4 separate regions of the Homo sapiens genome follow, and all the other regions are linked to region 2. The links are contacts of gene promoters, found by promoter capture Hi-C in human tissues and cell types (Jung and others, 2019). All regions are on one chromosome and are shown on one strand. The core of a region is centred on a gene start or on the middle of the fragment in contact, and the rest is flanking DNA. Distances in the headings are between cores, read along the strand shown. Region 1 holds the start of ZNF598 (zinc finger protein 598, E3 ubiquitin ligase). Region 2 holds the start of CEMP1 (cementum protein 1). Region 3 holds the start of HAGH (hydroxyacylglutathione hydrolase). Region 4 holds the start of NDUFB10 (NADH:ubiquinone oxidoreductase subunit B10).

Region 1 (3,427 bases), core at 99-2,598, 520 kb after region 2:
TCTCGCTCTGTTGCCAAGGCTGGAGTGCAGTGGCGTGATTGTCGTGATCTCGGCTCACTGCAACCTCTGCCTCACGGTTTCAAGAGATTCTACTGCCTCAGGCTGCCGAGTAGCTGGGACTACAGGCACATGTCACCACGCCCGGCTAATTTTTGTATTTTTAGTAGAGATGGGGTTTCACCATTTTGGTCAGGCTTGTCTCCAATTCCTGACCTCAGGTGATCCCAACCTCCCAAAGTGCTGGGATTACAGGCGTGAGCCACCACGCCCGGCCTAAAAATTTTTTTTGTGGAGATGGAGCCTGACTGTGTAGGCCAGGCTGGTCTCAAATTCCCAGGCTCCAGCAATCCGGGCCACCCAGCCTCCCAAACTGCTGGGATTACAGGCTTGAGCCACTGTGCCTGACAGCTTTTTTCAAGTGGCAAAATTGGGGTTTCAAGCCCATTTGTGTCTGTTTCTAAAGTCCAAGTTCACTGGGCATGGATCACTTGAGCCCAGGAGGTTGAGGCCTCAGTGTGCTGTGATCGTACCACTGTGTTACAGCAAGAGCAAGACCCGGTCTCAAATAAAGTAAGTAAAGTTCAGGCTCATTGATACAATTTACTGCCTCTTTTCCAGTAGGGTTTAGATCTGGACCTGCCTTCTGGATGGCAGAGGGAGGGAGGTCCTGAGTGTGCCTGGCCCTCAAGGGTAGGGAGGAGGCCCTGTTACTGCAGCATCCATCCAAACACGTCCTGTGCTGGGCCCAGCGTAAAGAGGACAGGTTCCGTTCGTGCCTTCCAGAGGCCCCTTCTGGGCAGGCCTGGCGAGACTGCCCTGGGCTGCGAGATGGACGTCACCACGTGCTGCCTTTCACGTTGTCTTTCATGTAGGGATTTAAACAGGGCATTAGGGAAGTGGAGGCGGGACCACGCTTGTGTGTGTTCCAAATACCAGAGACCGGTTTCCTAATAAGGTGGCCAGATTTAGCAAATACAAATACGGCAGGTCCACTTAAATGTCAATTTCAGATAAGGAGCAGCATTTTAGTATGAGCCTAGCCCATCAATATTTGGGCTATACTTACACTAAGACATGACCCCTTGTTCATCTGAGATGCAAACCAGTTGTGCCGTGTTTCATCTGACAACGCCAGTTCGTGGAGCCCGGCGAGTGTTGACGTGACACGCGTGGCCCAGAGGAGCCCGGGGCTGGCCGCGTGGCCGCGCGGACCTTCGAGCGGTCGGCTCATGGTAGAGCGGCCTCTATCAGGGCCACCGCTCTAGCCGGCGCCGCGCTGAGGCGGAAGTCGCGACGCGCACTTGCGCCGGGCGGGCCCGTTGCTGGGTGGGGCGGTGACGTTTGCCCGGAAGGGGCGGGCCCGCCGGGAGCCAGGCCGCTCGGCGCCACGACCGGCCGAGAGGGGGGCCGGATCCCGGACCATGGCGGCGGCCGGGGGGCGCCGAGGGGCGGCGCGCGGACATGGAGGCGGAGGCGGCGGCAGCTCCTGAGCGGGGAGGCGGGAGCTGCGTGCTGTGCTGCGGAGACCTGGAGGCCACGGCGCTGGGGCCGCTGCGACCACCCGGTGTGCTACCGCTGCTCTACCAAGATGCGGGTGCTCTGCGAGCAGCGCTACTGCGCCGTGTGCCGCGAGGAGCTGCGCCAGGTGCGGGGCGCCGGGGGCGCGGCCCGGGGGCAGCGGGGCTCCCGGCGACCGGATGGGGACTTTGCCTCACTGAGGTCCGGCCGTGGGCCCGGCGGCGCCGGCTTCCGAGAGAGGCCTGGTGGGGCCACCCAGGGCGGGGTCCCGGCCGTGCGGCTGACGGCGGGGCGTTGGGGCTTGGAGGCCGGAGGCGGCCGAGCGGGTTGCAGGAGGGGGCAAGCCCTGTGGGGACAGCCTGGGGACTTCCCCCGTGTCCCGGGGGTTCCTGCCGGGCCTCAGGAAGGGTCCTGATCAGATGGAGAACTCGGTGACCTGCTCGTCTTCAGGAGTTTATTTTCCAGGGTCCTCCATTCGAGGAAACAAGGCAAGGGGGACTCTGCGGAGGCCATCCGTCCTGGAAGCAGGGCGTCAAACTCTGGGCATTCTCAGCCCAGCTGTGTTTCTGGGCCCCCATTGGATGACCCTGAGCAAACTCCTTCCGAGACTGACGTTTTCCTCTGTGGAGTGGAGGTGACACTAGCCTCGGAAGGAGACCTGCCCGTCGGAGGGGAAGGCCCCCTCGCGCTTCTTGGCGGGAAGGGAGAAAAGTGTTAGGAAGTTGTCCTCCTCCTCGCCGCCGCCCCCCGCCTTTGGCGCTCATCTCCGCAGTGAATGGGAGACGTTTTTGACTGTACAGACTTGGAAGCCGTGGAGGGGTCAGAGGGTACCATGCAGCGTTCCTCCACCCTCACTGCACTGCCAGCTGCTGGCTGTGGGCACCTGGCTGGAGCCCGTTGGTTTGCTGAGCTTAGAGATTTGTTTGCTTCCAGCATTGTGAAATTCCCCCGGTTTGTTCATAGAAGGCTTCGGCTGGTGACATCTGCCAGGAATCTAACTTTCTTCTCCCCAGAAGTGATGCAGAGCAGTATTGAGGTGTAGGTTCTTTCTTTTTTTCCTTTTCTTTCTTTAAGTAGACGTTTACATCAAAGGAGTTGAAGAGATGCTGCAATTCTCTGAGCAATTTGTGGGCTTATAGTCTGTGCCCTTTTTGGAAAAAGACATTTGGAGATTCTATCAGTCTGTCATGTGACAGGAGGAGGCCGACCCAGACCCCGGGGAGATCTGGGGTGCAGGAACAGTCACAGAGGACCTTGGCCCGTGGCTTCCTCAGGGCGCTTCCTGGCTTTGCCAGGGCCTGCCTTGCCAGCCAGTCCTGCATAGCATGACCTCACTCTCCAACAGCTAGGTTTCCCAGCACACCTGTAGCTTCCTTCCGGAAAGAAGACGCTAAGGAGTTCTTGGCACGTGAGGTCCCGACCCAGGCTGCAGGTCTGATGCAAGACATGAGTGAACATCTGCGTATGCTTACTGTGGCAGCCTCTGCCCGCTCTCATTCCTTGTAGGCCCCACGCCCTCCAGGAGCTCTGTGGCTGGGGGCTGCGGACATGAGCTGTCAGCCGGGGTGTGGTTTGGCACTGGGTGCCCCCAGCCGGCTTCCTCTAGGGCCTACCCCGCCTTACTGGGCTGAAGGAGGGGCTCCTGGAAAGTTTGCTGTTTGCTGGTCTCCTCTCCTTTGCATTCGTTCTATTTTCTTCCCATCTTGAGCTTGCCGCCTCACTCTAGTCTCCTTTTTCCTTACTGAGTTCAGCACCATCCCCTGAATATATTCTGTGTCCCATGCGTGCTCAGGAATTCCCACTGCAACCCTCAACTCCTGAACCCTGGCGTTGCCTTGGCCTCCCTTATGGGACTAAGGTTTTGCGAAAATTGTGAGGAAAGTGTCCAGGATGCCGTGTGGAATCGGCT
Region 2 (3,334 bases), core at 548-3,047:
CAGGAATTCAAGACCAGCCTGGCCAACATAGTGAAACCCTGTCTCTACCAAAAATACAAAAAAATTAGTCAGGTGTGGTGGCGTGCGCCTGTAATCCCAGCTACTAAGGGGGCTGAGGCGGAGAATCGCTTGAACCCGGGAGGCGGAAGCTGCAGTGAGCAGAGATCGCACCACTGCACTCCAGCCTGCGCAACACAGCCAGGCTCCGTCACACACACACAAACCGAACTGCAAAGTAATAGCAAAAGTGTAAACCCATTTAGAAAAAACGTGTGTGACATAAATGTGATAAAAGGAACAGGGCCAGTCTGGGAGGGAGTACCCGGACGCTCCGGAGCTGTCCCAGACTCCAGGGGCGGAAAAGCCGGGCTGAAGAGGTGCCCTTCCTCCACGCTTCTGGTGCCAATCTCCCCTGCTGCGCCCACCCTGGGTCCCTAGCCTGGGCTCCAAACCAACTCCGAGCTAGGGAAGCTCCGAGCCAGGGTGCTTCTAGAGTGTCCGGCCCACCCCTCCGCTTCATTTCCCAAGACAGTGAGGGCGGGGCTAGAGGCCAGGTGCGGAGGTGCGGGACAGGAGCCAAGCTGGGTCGTAGTGGGATCCACCTGTGCGTGATACGTAACAGAAGGGAGAGGCGAGGCGCGGGGAGGTCCGCAGGGATGTGGGAGACGCGACGGGGAGGACTGGGACGAAACAAACTAGGTCCGCAAGGGTATAAGGGGAGCAGCTCGGAGGGTTGGGGCGAGGCGGGGTCTACAGGGGTGTGGGGGGCTTGGCAGGGAGCGCTGGGGCGACGCGGAGCTCCGCAGCGTTGGCGGGGAGCGTTGTGGGGAGACGGGGTCTGCAGGAATGTGAGGGCGCGGTGGGGAGCGTAGCGGGGTATGCAAGGTTGTGAGGGTTGTGGATGGGAGGGCTGGGGCGAGGCGGGGTCCGCAGAGATGTGGGGGGCGCAGAGATGGGGGGGGTCCGCGGGCCCGCCGGGGACCGCGCAGCCTCGGGCTCTGTGCCCGGGGCCGCGCGGGTTAACTAGAGAAGGTGACGCGCGCCCCTGTTGCTCAGCCGCGGCGCGTGCCTTCCCTGCGGCGATCCTAATTGGCCCGACAGAAGCCCGCCCCCAGAAGCCCCTCCCACAGTAGGCAAGGCCCCGCGTGCCGCAACGCTCCCAGAGTTGCGCGTCAGCCTGGACTCAGCGCCTGCGCTACGAGGCTGGGCGGGGCGCGGCCGGATCGGTCGAGAGCGTCCTGGCTGATGACGGTCTCCCGTGCCCACGCCCCAAACGCAGTCTCTGGCCTGGATGTGCTCGGAGCCCACGAGGTGCAGAGGCTCGGACGGCGAAAGGGACCTGGCTGAGATCTGGGTCTTAAACCGCGGGCTCGGCCCAGCATCCCGGCAGCGTGCGCCCACAAGTGACACCCGGCCGGGCGCGGTCTGCGGGATCGCAGGCGCCGGGTCTCATCTCCAGTTCACACACGGGACGAAACGGGCCACCCCTACCAGCTCTGAGAGCATGCACCTCCAACTCCATCCCTCCCCACATGCCCGACCCCCCAACCCGTAACTCAGGCAGACACCTGGGCGTCCCCCTTCAGCGAATGCCCACACCGCGGGCAGGCCTGCCCCTCACCCCGCAGTCAGGGCGCCCTGCATCCTTCTTTGTAAAACCCATAGCTGTAGAGGGAGCGGAATGGTGGGGCAGGGCTGGGAGCCCAGCGGGAGTGAGTGGTGGGGAATGATGGTGGCCAAGGTCACACAAAGCAGTGAATTCACTTCATGTCACAGAACTGCTCAGGTTACGATAGTTACTTTTGTTATGTATTTTACCACAATTTTTAAAAAGCAAACCAAAACCAACCAAGAGTGCTTCCCCCACACCTCAAAATCATCCTGCAGCAGCTCCCTGGCCCAGCTCTCTCTCACCCTGACCCTGGGCCCCTCTCCCACCACCCAGGGCTAGCCCTGTGGACCAACCATCTCTGCCAGCCCCTCCCCGACCCTCCAGCCAGGGAGGTGGGGCGCTGGCCGGTGAATGGGGCAGGCCAGGCCCAAAGGCTGGCCCAGGGCTCACCAGCTCTGGACTGGGCGTCCCGTCTGAGGTGGGGATGACCAACATGCCAGCTCTGGGTTTTAGCTGAGGATGGGCACATCAAGCACTGACAGCCAGCAAGCTGGGCACAGGCGATGCTCAACCTCTAACACATCGGCTGAGAACCTCACCTGCCTCTCCCTGCCTGGGAGCCCTGGCAAGACAGCTCCTCTCCCAGGCCCAGCACAGGCAGGCGCTGGACAGCCACTTCCTAAGGGGTGCGCGGCCGTCAAGGCAGAGGTGGGTATCCCTGCACCTCACACCTCTCAGGAGGTCAGGATCCACATCCGTCGCCTGCTTTCCTGGGCTGCCCCTGGGGCTTGTGGGCTGAGATCAACCCCTTGTGCCCTGCCCCAGGCCCTCCCTCAGGCGAGGCCCTGCCCAGGCAGGTGGTTCTTCCCTGGCTGTTCCCTTCCAACAGGTGGGGCCCAGACCATCCTATCTCTTTGGACCTGGAGACATTTCCTTAACTGGGCTTTGCAGCAGAGGGAAGAGAACAGTGGCAGAGCCAGGCGCGTACCTCCTGTGCCCAGGACAGCACCTGTAAGCAAGGGGGAAGGGAGCCACCCACCCCAGAACTCAAATGGAGAGAAAGTCAAGACAATCACCCCTGACGTGGGGCTGCACCAATCCCTGACGTCTGACCCCACTGTGGCTGTCCTCAGAGCCAAGAGGGCTCCAGAAGCCCACCCGCCTCGAAGCTGTTCAGGGAGCCTCACGGCCCGTGTTTGCCACATGGGTGTGTGCCAGGGCCAAGGGGACACAGAAGATGGCAGGATGACACTAATGGGGTGAGCAGGGCACACTGGTGCCTCCCATACTGCCCTCCAGCACCAGGCAGGGTCACCACAGCCGGCAAGCACTGGGCCTGGGGATGTGTGAAGAGATAGGGTTATTGAGAAGAGAAAACAGAACGCTGGTCATCCGTGGCACTCAGGGCTAGGCAGTCCAGGGAGCAGAAAACAGGGGTCCCGGGCCCAGTCTCCCTCCTGGAGGTCAGAGCGGAGCCCCTGGCACTGTGCCCTGGCCCAGAACCAGGCTGTGGGCTCCACGCTGCACACCCCAACTCAGGAGCAGAAAGCAAACCCCTGACTGTCCACACTCCCTGTGACTGGTCCCCTTCCTGCCGGCTCTTCACCCCCAGCCCATGGTGGCTTCACCCCATGGCACCAGCCACTGACTGCCTGCCCCTCCCTCCCATAGTGACACTTTCCTGGGGTCTGCAGGTCTCCGGTCCACTTCATGCAGACAGGC
Region 3 (3,476 bases), core at 10-2,509, 700 kb after region 2:
GGTCTGGATCTCCTGACGTCGTGAGCCGCCCGCCTCGGCCTCCCAAAGTGCTGCGATTACAGGCGTGAGCCACCGCGTCCGGCCAATAAATGGTTTCTAATTAAAGGATTGTGACATTTAATAGCCGTTGCTTGCTCTTGTCTTGCTCCCTTCTCTCTCGAAACTTGTTAAGAAATAACTCAATATTCTGGCTTTTCCACTTTAAATGTCATACTGACCAGCCCGTGTATGCCAGCCTCGATCTCATCGTTTTCTTTAACCGGTCCAACTCCCTTTGGCGTCCCAGTCAAGATAATATCTCCTTCTTCCAAGGTTATGATCTTAGAAACATAGCTGATGATGTAGGGGATGGAAAAAATCATGGAGGATGTCTCACCCTCCTGTCTGAGTTCGCCGTTGACCTTGAGCCAGAGCTTCAGCTTGTGAGGGTCAGGGATCTTCTCCTTGGGCACGAACGCGCTGACCGGGCAGGACGCCGTGAAGCTCTTCGCCAGAGTCCAGGGCAGCCCCTTCTTCTTGCACTCGTCCTGCACGTCCCGGGCGGTCATATCCAGGCACAGGGCATAGCCGCCCACGTAGTCCATGGCCGCAGCCTCGGGGACTGCGCGGCAGCGCTTGCCCATCACCACGCCCAGCTCCAGCTCGTGGTGCAGGTTGCGAGTGTACGCGGGCATGAGGATGGGCGAGCCCTCGGGCGCGTAGGCCGTGGACGGCTTCAGGAACAGCACGGGCTCGCTCAACACCGCGCTGCGCATCTCCCTGACGTGGTCCGCGTAGTTCCTCCCCACGCAGACGATGTTCTTTCCCCACTCCCAGAAGCGGGACAATGGCCTGGATGCTGCCATGATTCCCATCAAGTGCCCCTGTAGTCACGTGGGCTGGGCCGGTCAGCTGATGCCTACGGCATCCCGGAGAGGACCAACTGCCTCGGAACGCTGTCCCCCGCAGCGACGGCCCGTTCCACCTCGCGATCTGCCGGGTACCCGGGCGGCGTGGCGCTCGGCCTCCAGGGATCCACTGTGCGGTGCCAAAAAAGAGGCGGAGGCTCGCGGCACAGCTCTCCCGGCGCAGCTCTCGGGCCGCCGCCGCCGCTCCCAGGCCCGTCTCCCGGCCCGTGGCAGTCGGGGCTCGCGGACAAAACAAGTTGAGCGCGAGCGCGTTGATTGGTTGGCGGACGGTGCGAGGTGGACGCTGATTGGCTGAGGGCAGCGCGAGGCGGGCGCTGATTGGCTGCGACGCGCCGACGCCGGTGTTTTGCAGTCCTGGGCAGCTCGGCAGTCCAGCCCGGCCCGGGTCATGGTGGTGGGCCGAGGGCTGCTCGGCCGCCGCAGCCTCGCCGCGCTGGGAGCCGCCTGCGCCCGCCGAGGCCTCGGTGGGTGCGGCGGGGCGGTGCGGGCCGGGGGACGCGGGCCTGGCGGGGCGGGCAGCGGGCGGCGCCGGGCCGTCGTTTGGCGACCGCTGACGCGGTGTCTGTTGCGCAGGTGCCTAAGGCCGCGCTGCCGGGCTCGAGCGGAGGCGGCGCAGGCGCTGAGGCTGGCGCGGAGCGGGCGCGGGGCCGCGGGTGCGGAAAGCGCTAGGTAAGCAGGGCCAGGCCTGCGTCCGCCGCGGCCTCCACGCTCGGGCTGGGCCGGCCGCGCCCCTGACGCCTCCAGGGCATCGCGTCCTGCCCGGGCCGGCGCCGAGGAGAGCCTGGGGCGCGGCTCTGAGGCGCAGCGGGCAGGGCCCCGGGACGCCTGGCCCACCCCGCACCTGCTGCCCCGCTGCAAGGACCGCGGTCTCGCGGCGCCGCCTGCGGTGGTGGAGCTGCCCGCCCGGCGCCGGAGCCCCCGTCTGGGGACCCGGCGTGTCATTCGCCCGAGGTGGTCGCGCGGCCGGGCCAGGCCAGCGCCCCGGGCGGGTGCGCAGCGCAGGGCACTGGGCGGGCGGAGGCGCAGACAGGGAGGCGTCCCTGGCGGTTTCCAGATCTCGCCGAAAGCTGTCAAGGCTCTGCAGGGGGTAGAATGTCGCCATTGCTAAGGAAAGGACATGGATTTTGAGGTCCTCAGAATTACAGTTTTAGGGACATTCATAAGGGTCCAGGCAGAGAGTTCCAGCGGGACTGTGTGCATCGGCAGGGCGTGCGTACCCCATTCTAAGGGAGGCCCCAGCCCCCGTATTTGGTGCCGCCCAGTTCAAGGGAAGCAAGATGCTGTGAAACTTCCTGATTTAAAAAAGAAGTGCAGTGACGCACGCCTGTCATCCCAGCACTTTGGGAGGCCGAGGCGGGAGGATCGCTTGAGTCCAGGAGTTCCAGACCAGCCTGGCAACATGTTGAGACCTCATCGCTACAAAAACTAAACAAAATCAGCCGGGCGTGGTGGCACACAACTGTAGTCTCAGTCACTTTGGAGGCTGAGGTGGGAGGATCGCTTGAGTCCAGGAGGTCGAGGCTGCAGTGACCCTTGATCGCACCACTGCACTGTAGCCTAGGGGACAGAGTGAGACCATATCTCAATTTTTTTTTGTTTTTGGGGCCAAACCGAACATGTTTCTGGACTTGGTCCAGGCCCCAGGCTGCAGGTCCTTGACCTGTTTGTACAAAGTATTACAGTTACAAAACAGCAAGCCGGGAACATTTGCCAGGCAGTGCTGGGCTGAGTGATATGGAAAGGGAATACGGTTTCTGCTGGTGTTGGCACCAGCTGCGTCTTTCCTCAGAAATAAAGGCACCTCCCTGGGTTGTCAGCTTCTTCAGGAGGCTGTGATGGTCTCCAGGGGAGGCTGAGCACCAGTTGTAAATGACATTTTCTTCGCCTGGGCAGTGCAGTGGCCAATCTCGGCTCACTGCAACCTCTGCCTCCCGGGCTCAAGCGAGTCTCCTGCCTCAGCCTCCTGAGTAGCTGGGACTACAGGCGCTCGCCACCACGCCCAGCTAATTTTTGTATTTTTTAGTAGAGACAGGGTTTCACCATATTGGTCAGGCTGGTCTCGAACTCCTGACCCCGCGATCCGCCCGCCTCGGCCTCCCAAAGTGCTGGGATGACAGGCGTGAGCCACCGCACGTGGGCAGTATTTTTGTTTGTAATGTTCTGCTCCTTGTTTGTAATGGAGCTCCTTTCCAGGAGGACGCCCGGCACTCGGAATCCTGTCACAACCCTTCTGCACCCCACCTGCAGCCCCCAGCACCCACACTCTGCTTGTTGTGCTCCTTGGGCTGGGGTGGTGCTGAGGCTAAGGGGAAGGGGAATAACACAGGAAGCTGCTCATATAGAAATCTTGGTATTATTGTTCCTGAGGAGAATGATCTGGAAAATGCCCAGCTGGTTGTCAGGCGGGTAATAGGATATCTTTGTGCAGTGATTGAAACTATAGTTTGGGCAGTTTCCCCGGCTGTGGAAATAAGGTCGGATTCCGCATTTCGGTGGGCCCTGGAGACGCGTGTGTCTGTCAGTTGGTGGCTGCTGCCCATTTCTGGATCCCTTTTGGGAGAAGCCCCT
Region 4 (2,548 bases), core at 1-2,500, 570 kb after region 2:
GGCTCCAACAGGGAGCCTCCAGCAAGCAGAACTTACCACCTTACGGCCTCAGCTTCCTCACTGGGAAATGAACGAGCTAAAAGGAGAGCTCGAACATCCAGACACATAGGACAGACATGCTCTACAACTGCTACAAAAGAGAGGGAGCTGGGTCCGCTGTTGCACGGTTTCCAGATCTTTGGGGGTTTGATTTGGAGACTTCACCCTCTTACGGAAGAACCACCAGAGCATGCTATGCACCCCAAGTGTTCAAAAAGAACTGAACCAGGCTGGACACGGTGGCTCAGGCCTGTAATCCCAGCACCTGGGGGCCAAGGTGGGAGGATCACCTGAGGTCAGGAGTTCGAGACCAGCCTGGCCAACATGGTGAAACCCCGTGTCTACTAAAAATATAAAAATTAGCTGGGCGTGGTGGTGGTGCGCCTGTAATCCTAGTACTGGGGAGGCTGAGGCAGGAGAATCGCTTGAACCCGGGGTGGGGCAGAGGTTGCAGTGAGCCGAGATCGCGCCACTGCACTCCAGCCTGGGCAACAGAGTGAGACTGTCTCAGGAAAAAAAAAAACAACAAAAACTGAACTGGGCATTTTCCCGGTTCGTTCCAGAGATGCTGAATTTGGGCATCTCGGCCATCACCCCGACACTTGGTCATCCGGCAGAGAGACATTTGAGAGAGGCCTGAGGCCAGCGGTGCAGTGGAGGGGTGCCCGGGGCGGCGGGGGGCGGAGAGCAGTGCGGGGTCCTGGGGCAGTGGGCGCTGGGTGCGGCAGGGAGGGAAGAGTCCTGGGAAGAAGCGGGGCATCCCGGGGTGCAGGGGAGAGTAAGGGATCCTGGGAGGTGAGGTCCGGGGTGCAGTGGGAGGCCAAAGGAGGCGACGGAGCTCGGAGGTCTCCGGGGGTGGGGAGTTGTCCCCGGGGTGCAGCGGGGGGCGGTCTCAGGCAGACGGGACCCCGGAGGCATTGGAGGATCCAGGCAGGGTGTGGGATCCAGGGGTCCCCAGAGGCCGGCGAGGGAGCCCCGGGCTGGGGCTTCGTACCTCTCACGAGGGTCACGGGTCGGTCCACGATGAGGTCGAACGCTTTCATCATGTAGACGATGGGATTGGGCTGCACCGGCGTGCGGCGCGGGGGCTCAGGGTACACATCCTTGTCCCAGCTGTCCGGCATGGCGGCGGCGGGCGCGGACTCCGCTCCCGGACGCGCTGCCCTGGCCTCTACCTCCGTCCGGGTCCCGCGGCCTAGGTCGCCCGCTACAGAGGACGCCGAGGGCGGCTGCGTCTGCGCGCTGGCGCCGCGATGCACCATGGGACTTGTAGTTCCCCGGCTCCGCCGGGCGCGGCCGGGACCCGCCTCGCCGCAGGGCGCCCCCGCGTGGGGCCTCCGTTCTCGGTCTGTGCCGAGCGCCTACGCGGTGCTGGTCGCTGGTCTGGGCGCCTGGGAAGCAGCCGCGAACCGGACAGATTCCTGCTTACGATGAAAGAAACAGACAAAAGGCAACTGACATAAGGAATAGGAGGGGGTCATTCGGTTCCCACTGCGCGCCAGGCACTGTGCTGAGTGCAGCAGGGAATAAGATAAACTGTGATGGAGAACACAGGCCGTTAGAGCGCACACGACAAAGTGAACAAATAGCACGCGATTCCAAACACCCTACTCCTCCAGGAAGCTTTCCTGGATTGCCTAGTCCCTACAGACTTCTCTGGGCCCCGCTCTCTACAAGGGCCCCTCATGGACTGGCTGGTGCCAGTTAACTTGGGAGCCTGTCTGGGGGAGGGCAGGGAGCAGACCAGGAGGCAGGGCTTGCCCTTAGGCGGCTCATAGGGAGAAGGCACCTACCCTGGGCACAGGGCCCTCTGGCCGGCTTTGATGGTTCCATCCTGGCCCTGGGGCACTCTGGTGCTTCTAGGCAGCTCCACTGAGCAGGGTCCTGCTGGCCACATCTTCAGTCTCCACACCTGGCACGGCCCCTGGCTGCTATCCAGGGGGGACACTGGTCATGTCCTGTCCTGAGGTTGAGGCCAGCGACACAGAACCATCAACCCTACAGACAAACAGTGAGAGGTGACAGCGTGCTGGCAGTCCTCAGAGCCCTCGCTCGCTCTCGGCGCCTCCTCTGCCTGGGCTCCCACTTTGGCGGCACTTGAGGAGCCCCTTTCTGGGCTGGCCAAGGCCAGAGCGGGCTCCCTCAGCTTGCGGGGAGGTGTGGAGGGAGAGGCGCAGGCGGGAACCGGGGCTGCGCGCGGTGCTTTGCGGGCCAGCGCGAATTCCAGGTGGGTGTGGGCTCGGCGGGCCCCGCACTCGGAGAGCCTGGCCGGCCCTGCCGGCCCTGGGCAATGAGGGGCTTAGCACCCGGGCCAGCGGCTGCGGAGGGTGTGCTGGGTCCCCCAGCAGGCCGGCCCACCGGCGCTGCGCTCGATTTCTCTCGCCAGGCCTTAGCTGCCTCCCCGCGGGGCAGGGCTCGGGACCTACAGCCCGCCATGCCTGAGCCTCCCCCACTCCGTGGGCTCCTGTGCGGCCCGAACCTCCCCGACGAGCGCCGCCCCCTGCTCCAG

Evidence for each region. Contacts are between HindIII fragments. The study calls those that stand out against the background at their distance.
Region 1: a contact is called between the fragment with the promoter of ZNF598 here and the fragment with the promoter of CEMP1 in region 2, in 3 of the 25 tissues and cell types used here (IMR-90 fibroblasts, lymphoblastoid cells and spleen).
Region 3: the fragment with the promoter of HAGH here is called in contact with the fragment with the promoter of CEMP1 in region 2 in 1 of the 25 tissues and cell types used here (lymphoblastoid cells).
Region 4: the fragment with the promoter of NDUFB10 here is called in contact with the fragment with the promoter of CEMP1 in region 2 in 2 of the 25 tissues and cell types used here (lymphoblastoid cells and spleen).

What each region holds. Positions count from the first base shown.
Region 1 is chr16:2,007,742-2,011,168 of GRCh38, reverse strand. ZNF598 (zinc finger protein 598, E3 ubiquitin ligase) reads left to right here and starts at 1,348. Exons shown (of 14, transcript NM_178167.5): 1 at 1,348-1,431; 2 at 1,433-1,544; 3 at 1,546-1,645. The coding sequence starts at 1,422. It overlaps LOC124903626 (a long non-coding RNA gene), which reads right to left and starts at 1,284. Exons shown (of 2, transcript XR_007064941.1): 1 at 1,067-1,284; 2 at 581-861. RefSeq lists enhancers at 990-1,149, 674-1,622 and silencers at 1,230-1,449, 1,540-1,969, 1,980-2,049. The HindIII fragment of the contact is 21,988 bases long and covers 1-3,427 here.
Region 2 is chr16:2,529,871-2,533,204 of GRCh38, reverse strand. CEMP1 (cementum protein 1) reads left to right here and starts at 1,797. Exons shown (of 1, transcript NM_001048212.3): 1 at 1,797-3,170. The coding sequence starts at 2,132. The coding sequence ends at 2,875. It overlaps AMDHD2 (amidohydrolase domain containing 2), which reads right to left. Exons shown (of 11, transcript NM_001330449.2): 11 at 1,788-3,334. MIR3178 (microRNA 3178) reads left to right here and starts at 1,200; the gene lies at 1,200-1,283. RefSeq lists enhancers at 515-564, 1-566, 1,345-1,394. The HindIII fragment of the contact is 25,225 bases long and covers 1-3,334 here.
Region 3 is chr16:1,824,608-1,828,083 of GRCh38, reverse strand. HAGH (hydroxyacylglutathione hydrolase) reads left to right here and starts at 1,259. Exons shown (of 9, transcript NM_005326.6): 1 at 1,259-1,372. The coding sequence starts at 1,297. It overlaps FAHD1 (fumarylacetoacetate hydrolase domain containing 1), which reads right to left and starts at 878. Exons shown (of 1, transcript NM_031208.4): 1 at 1-878. The coding sequence starts at 845. The coding sequence ends at 180. RefSeq lists an enhancer at 659-848 and a silencer at 939-1,908. The HindIII fragment of the contact is 9,774 bases long and covers 1-3,476 here.
Region 4 is chr16:1,958,240-1,960,787 of GRCh38, reverse strand. NDUFB10 (NADH:ubiquinone oxidoreductase subunit B10) reads right to left here and starts at 1,250. Exons shown (of 4, transcript NM_004548.3): 1 at 1,034-1,250. The coding sequence starts at 1,163. RefSeq lists silencers at 621-730, 1,161-1,470 and an enhancer at 2,193-2,548. The HindIII fragment of the contact is 2,906 bases long and covers 1-2,283 here.